2 separate regions of the Homo sapiens genome follow, and region 1 is linked to region 2. The links are contacts of gene promoters, found by promoter capture Hi-C in blood cells and fetal thymus (Javierre and others, 2016). All regions are on one chromosome and are shown on one strand. The core of a region is centred on a gene start or on the middle of the fragment in contact, and the rest is flanking DNA. Distances in the headings are between cores, read along the strand shown.

Region 1 (3,193 bases), core at 554-3,053, 280 kb after region 2:
GGATCAAAGTACCCCTCACAGTGGATGAGATCGCCAGCTTCGGGGAGGGTAGCAGGGAGCTGTTTGTGAGGTCCAGCACCTACAGCCTGATCCCCATCACTGTGGCCGAGGCAGGCCTCACCATCAGCTGGGTCTTCTCCTCTGACCCCAAGAGCATCTCCTTCAGTGTGGTCTTCCAGGAGGCCGAGGACACACCGCTGGATCAGTGTAAGGTAAGGCTGGGCTCCCTGCCTGTGGGCTCCTTACACACACATCTGGGTACTTGGGCAGGCCTTTCTCAAAGCAGGGCAGTGGCCATCCTATCCTCTGCTGGGCAGGCCTCACTTGGAATGTTCTGGGCAGTATCATGCAGAGAAGGCAGAGCACCTGGGCCTTGTCCAGTTTGGGGAGAGAAAGACCCAGAAGTTCTGGAAAGCTGTTCTCAAATGTCTGAAGGTCACACCTGTGTGAAACAGGTACAGTCTGCCCTTGGGATAGATGGGTAGGTGAAAGAGGAATACAGACGTATGACTCAATTTAAGGATCATTTTCTAATAGAGCTGTGCAAAGCAGGAATGGATCACCTTGGGAGGTGGTGACCTCTCTTCCTCTAGTTTTTAGCTTAGGGTGCATCTCAACCCGGAAAGGTGTCAGTAGAGACAACCCCAATGTCACTTGGGTGGTCGAGCTTGAAATCTTGGTGGCAGGTACCAGTTTATAAATTCCTAAGACATTCTAGGCATGGAATGTTGACAGTGCCCGGACTGTTGTTCTCAACCTTGGCTGCAAATTAGAGTCTCTAGGGGTGGGATCCAGACATCTCCAAGTGATTCCAATGAGCAGCCAAGGTTGAGAACCACTGGTGTAGATCAGGGGGTTGAAGCCAAAGTGGAAAGGATGAGGTGGAATCCAGACCACAGGGACAGAGGTTGGGCAGGGCTCCATGGGTGGCTGATTCAGTATGGGGCAAGGAGAAGGGAGACCCATGCCTGAGGTCTGAATTTGATGCCTGCATCTCTGCAGAGAAAGGGTGTAGAGGGATATGGGAGGGAGAGATGGTTTGCATGGAAACACAAGTTCCATTTGAATCATTCTGAGTGAAAGAAATGGTAAAAGCCGTTGGGCCTGCTGGACTGGAGCTGAAAATGGATCCTAGTCTGGGAATATGACTGCAGAAATCTCCATTTTGCAAGAATTGCAAGGATCAAGATAGGGAAAAGCTAGCTGAAGTCATGTGAAACAAGAGTTCTGTGAAGTCTTTGCAGAAACATCTAATAGTCCCTTGTGTGTTTGGTCCACTGGGTGCCCTCGAGGGGCTTGAGGCTGAGGGATGAGGAGGGCCCAGAGCAGGAGAGCCCAGCTAGGAGACACATTGGGCCACACAGCAGTTCCTGCTGTGGCGCTGGCATCCCATAGAGGAACACGTACCCGTTTGGGTTTGCTCTCCTGCCATCCTGCCCTGTTGGAATCTGCTCAATGCAGGGATCGCTTTTGTCATTTCTCTGCTTTTCAAACTCACTCTCAAAATGTAACTCTACTCCCTTGGGTTGGCCTTGTTTATTGGAATCTCATATTCTGTCTTATTTAAAACCGCTCTGCCCATCTTATTCTTTTGGGGCTTGTAGCCAGCTCCTCCTACCTACCTCTGGAGCCCTTCCTTCTTGAGCAGTTCTGAGCCCCCACCCAGGAGGTCCTGGTGCGGCCAACATGCCTGTCAGCTCCACACTAACAAACGGCAGCACTGCCAAGAGCTGCCCTTGCCACTCACCATCACGTTCCCCAGACCCACCAGGCCCCCAGCCCTGAATCCACCCAGATCAGACACCGTGAGTGTTTGTGGCAGGGAGGGAAGGGACGAAATCAGGGATCCAGGCCTTTGCTGTTTTGCCTGCCCATATGTGGCTGGGCTGTGGGCCTCTCCCCTTGCTCAGTCCCTACCCACCGAGTCCTCAGCAGCCTGGGGTTCCTGTGTGGCTCTACCAGGAATCAGGAACTTGGGGACCTACTGAGCCTTCCTCCTCTAGCTTCCAGGGGGCCCCACTGCCTTTCCCCACAGTGACACCAGGGGGCAGAAGGGGCCCGTGTACAGGATGCTTAGGTGCTCCTCTGCCTTCACAGGCCACTGTCACCAACCACAGATGGGGGTGGCTGTTATCTCTGCCTGAGGTCCCCCAAAGAGACCATGGCCAGGGTAGCCTGTTTCCAGACATGTGCCCTCAATATCTATCCCGGGGACTCCCCGAGTGCACTCCTGACCAGCCTGGGCCTTAGAGGAAATGACAGATGCAGTGCAAATTGCAGCACTCAGACTTCATGATTACGGAGGTATAGACACAAGGAATTATGCTGTGTATTTGCAACCATTTATTGAGTGTGTCCTGTATACTGGACTCTGTAGGGCCCACGGGGGATAGAAAGATGAAGGGATAACATGGGATCTCCCGTTGAGGAGCTCACTGTGTAATCAGAGAGAGACTCTAATAAATAGACATTTGTGATTCCAGGTGGTTTCATGACAGGGGTGGGTGGGCACTGTGGGTACCCCTGGGAAGGATGCCTAGCCCAGCCTGGGGAACAGAGATGAGGAAAGGAGACCCCTGGGCGATGATGAAGACCACAGTGGAGGAAACCAGAAGCAGCATTGTGAGGTGAGGCGAGGGACCTGTGGGCTTGAGGAGAAGCATCCAGGTGGATGGAATAGCACAGCAGAAGGCCAGCCCCGTTTCTAGGGGCACCTGTCAGACACTCTCCACCCTGTGCCACCCTCTCTCCAGACCCACTTCCTCCATTATAGTCATAGACTCGACACTGAGATTGGAGAGTGTGAATCTAGGGGAGGCACTTGATGAAAGAAATTATGAACCAGGTTACCAGTGTACACACCGCTGGCCTGAGGCCCAGGGACAAAGTGGAGAATTGGATCCAGACTCTGTCCTCTCTCTGGGCAGAGGATCCGTCTTTGGCCAGAGGTCGATGGCCTGTTGGGGTGGGCTTCAGAGGGAGTCAGAGGAGGAATCAGCTGACAGCAAGGACCCTTGACTTTGTTTTTTAAAACAGCTTTATTGAGATATAACTCACGCACTTGGAATGTACAGTTTAATGGTTTTTAGTATATTCACAGAGTTGTACCACCATTACCACTGTCTAATTTTAGATTCTTTCCATCACTCCAAAAAAGAAATTCTGTGCCCATTAGCAGTCACTCCCCAACCTC
Region 2 (3,081 bases), core at 144-2,643:
ATAAATATTTGTTCAATGAACAAGCAGATTTGCCTGGTACATCCCCTCTGTGGAATGAAACCTAGAGCAGAGCTGGAAGCCTGGTCAAGGATGAGGTACTGACCATGTCCCTTACTTTAGACAGGATCAAGGAAAAGGCAGGCCTCACAAGCCTCTGTTCTCTTTGGAAACTGATCCACCAGCAAAGTACTGCAAATAGCCAGGCACATGCAGACCCCCATTTATTTCTTTGGGGTGAAGCTGAGTGATGATCAGATGTCAAGCTTAGGCCATCTTGTCTGAATTCTTCATTTTACAGATAAGAAAACTGAACCATGAAGAGACAAGTGATCTTTTCAAAGCACATTCACACTGATGATTTCTGAAACAGTGCTTTGTAGCAATGCCGTGAGGAAGGTTAGGGGTGTCCCCACTTTATAGAAGACACAAGGGCAGAGGCAGAGTAGGTGTTGGCAGTTGTGAGGAGAGTCACAGTACTCATCATTTGTCAGACATTTTTCACTGTGCCAGGCACTCTGACATTTTTCATGTACAAGTTGACTTCGTGCTTCTCCTCTGAGGTAAGCATTCAATACTCCCATTTAGCAGAGTAGGAACCAAGACTTAGAAAGGTGAGTGATCTGCCCATGTCACAGGTGGAGAGCTGGGATTTGAACTTGGCCCATGTTTGACCATCACGTAAAACAGGAATGGGGCATCAGAAAGGGAAGGTCAAAATGTAACCAACAGACCTATATTCCCTTCATGCTGGAGGTTCCTGGGGCAAAGCCACTCTCTGAGGTTTGGTGGGGAGGGACTTGGGGAGCAGAGAGCAGAGGGACAATGAGCTCCCAGAAGCCGAGGGGCATAGGGTGCCAAAGAGAAGCTGCTGCCTCTGTGAGCACCCATGTCAGTTAGTTTTGAGGAACAGGACTCAGGGTTCCAGTTTAAATCCTTCCATTCACAATCTTTAAGAAGAAGAAAAAAAAGAAGTCTGCCGCTGACCACAAGAGCTCTATGCCCTGCCCCCATCCCACATACACACATCCCACACTTCAATTGCTCCAAACATTCTGGGAACATCTCACTGCCACCCACCTCACCCAACTCAGCTTCACCTGCCCCCAATTCCCTTAAGGCTGAGCTCCCAGGGCCAAGACTCAAGAGGCTCAGAGTGAGCAGAGAAAATCCTCGCAGTTAACTTGGCTTCCAGGAAGTGGCCACTGGTGGGCGTTGTGGCCATTCATGAGCACCAAACCACACAAAAAGAAGAACTTTGTCCCTTTCTTGTCATTTTGAAAGACTGTGAAACTGGAGCCAATTCTCCATCATCACACAGGAAGCTGAGTACTTCCTACTTGGTCAGGATCTTGAAACTTGAATTCATAAAAACCCAGAAAGCCCCAGAAACAAAGACTTCACGGACAAAGTCCCTTGGAACCAGAGTAAGTGTCACTTGTCTTTTCTGTCTTATCTGTTACTGTGGAGGGCAGTGTTGTTCAAAGACATGCATGCAGCTAGGGGCTCCTCAAAGGTAGGGGGAATTCTTTGAGTAGGCTGGGCAAATGTCTAAGTAGCCCATGGATGCATCTCCAAGGCAATTAATACTGTAGCAATACTGAGAATGGTGGATTTATAAAGCTGGGTGCTCAGATGAAATATAGGCTTTTTTGCTAAAAAGGAAGCTTACTTGAAGGATTGGCTTTTGGTTACTGATTAAGAAAGTCAGTCAGTACTAAGGGACAAAAGGTGTTTTCTGTGGAAACCTATTCAATAAGAAATTACTTGGCGGGGCGCAGTGGCTCACGGCTGTAATCCCAGCACTTTGGGAGACCGAGGCAGGTGGATCATGAGGTCAAGAGATGGAGACAATCCTGGCCATATGGTGAAACCCTGTCTCTACTAAAAATAAAAATTAGCCGGGCATGGTGGCGCATGCCTGTAGTCCCAGCTACTCAAGAGGCTGAGGCAGGAGAATCACTCGAATCCGGGAGGTGGAGGTTGCAGTGAGCTGAGATTGCACCACTACACTCCAGCCTGGCGACAGAGCAAGAGTCTGTCTGAAAAAAAAAAAAAAATTGCTTGCCAAATTCCCCCATGTAAAGGAAAACCAAACATGGTGTATGAAGAAATTATAGCAAGAGGGAAATATTAGCTAGAAAAATCTTGGCAGATGCAAGGATGATTTGATACTGAACCTATCTCTTAAGAAGACTAGAACCAAGGATCCTCAAAATTGGCACTGCTATCTTTGGAAGAGGTAGGCTTTCACTCACCCAAAGGCAAGGAGCTGGCCAGGTGATCTTGGGGGGCATCTGTTCTGCTCTACTAACAAAGACACAGGTCAGGATTTTGTTCTGAAGATAGAGGGGCATGGTGGCTCCGTATAGGTATCTACTTCATAGGTGGTCTTGGTGGGTCCCAGATTTCAAAGAAGAGATGGAAACTCCCAAAAGTTTGCACAACCTGGCACCAGGCTATGTGCCACTCACTGATCCTTTAGTTCCCGCACCGAGCAGTGGGACAGTGCTGGACTGTTCAGAATGTGGGGCCTGGGCAGTGATGTGCTGGTAAATGTTCAACAACTGACTCTTCTGAAGAAAAGATCCCTGCTTTATAACATTTGTTGATTTTCATGGTATAAATGCCCCCACTGTGGTCAGTTTCAAGCTACCAACATGCTGAATGTGGAGTGGGGAAGAGATGCACGCAATTGGCATTTATAAACCAGTATAAGCCAGCCAGCGCACCATAGGCCTGGGTGTCTTTCACCATCACAGACTGCTCTATCTCTGCTCAGAGACTTCACCAACTCCCAGGCTGGAGGACACTAGCAGTGGAGGGTCCAGGATCCAGGGCTATAGCTGACCACTGTGCAGTGGCCTTGAGGCAGACTTCTGCAGTAGACTACAGCAGGGCTGGCAGATTAGATGACAACATGGTCCTTTGGTTTCTCTTCTCGGGCCCCACCCCAGATCACCTCCCTTTAGGAACAGCATGCCTTGGAGTGGTTGCCTGGGGCTTAACAAGTTGGGGAAATAACAAATGGGTTGGAGGTAGGGGGTGTATGGAGGTGACTCGGTTTAAAATGCCACCTGACAA

What was found. The method cuts DNA at HindIII sites, captures the fragments that hold promoters and counts their contacts. A CHiCAGO score of 5 or more calls a contact.
Region 1: a contact is called between a fragment that was not itself captured here and the fragment with the promoter of CCR1 in region 2, in 1 of 17 cell types (neutrophils). The highest score is 7.0, in neutrophils.

What each region holds. Positions count from the first base shown.
Region 1 is chr3:45,928,090-45,931,282 of GRCh38, reverse strand. FYCO1 (FYVE and coiled-coil domain autophagy adaptor 1) reads left to right here. Exons shown (of 18, transcript NM_024513.4): 16 at 2-212. Among named protein-coding and RNA genes, the nearest start is that of CXCR6, 14 kb to the left of the region's middle. The HindIII fragment of the contact is 4,833 bases long and covers 1-3,193 here.
Region 2 is chr3:46,206,625-46,209,705 of GRCh38, reverse strand. It overlaps CCR1 (C-C motif chemokine receptor 1), which reads left to right and starts at 1,393. Exons shown (of 2, transcript NM_001295.3): 1 at 1,393-1,424. The HindIII fragment of the contact is 1,401 bases long and covers 266-1,666 here.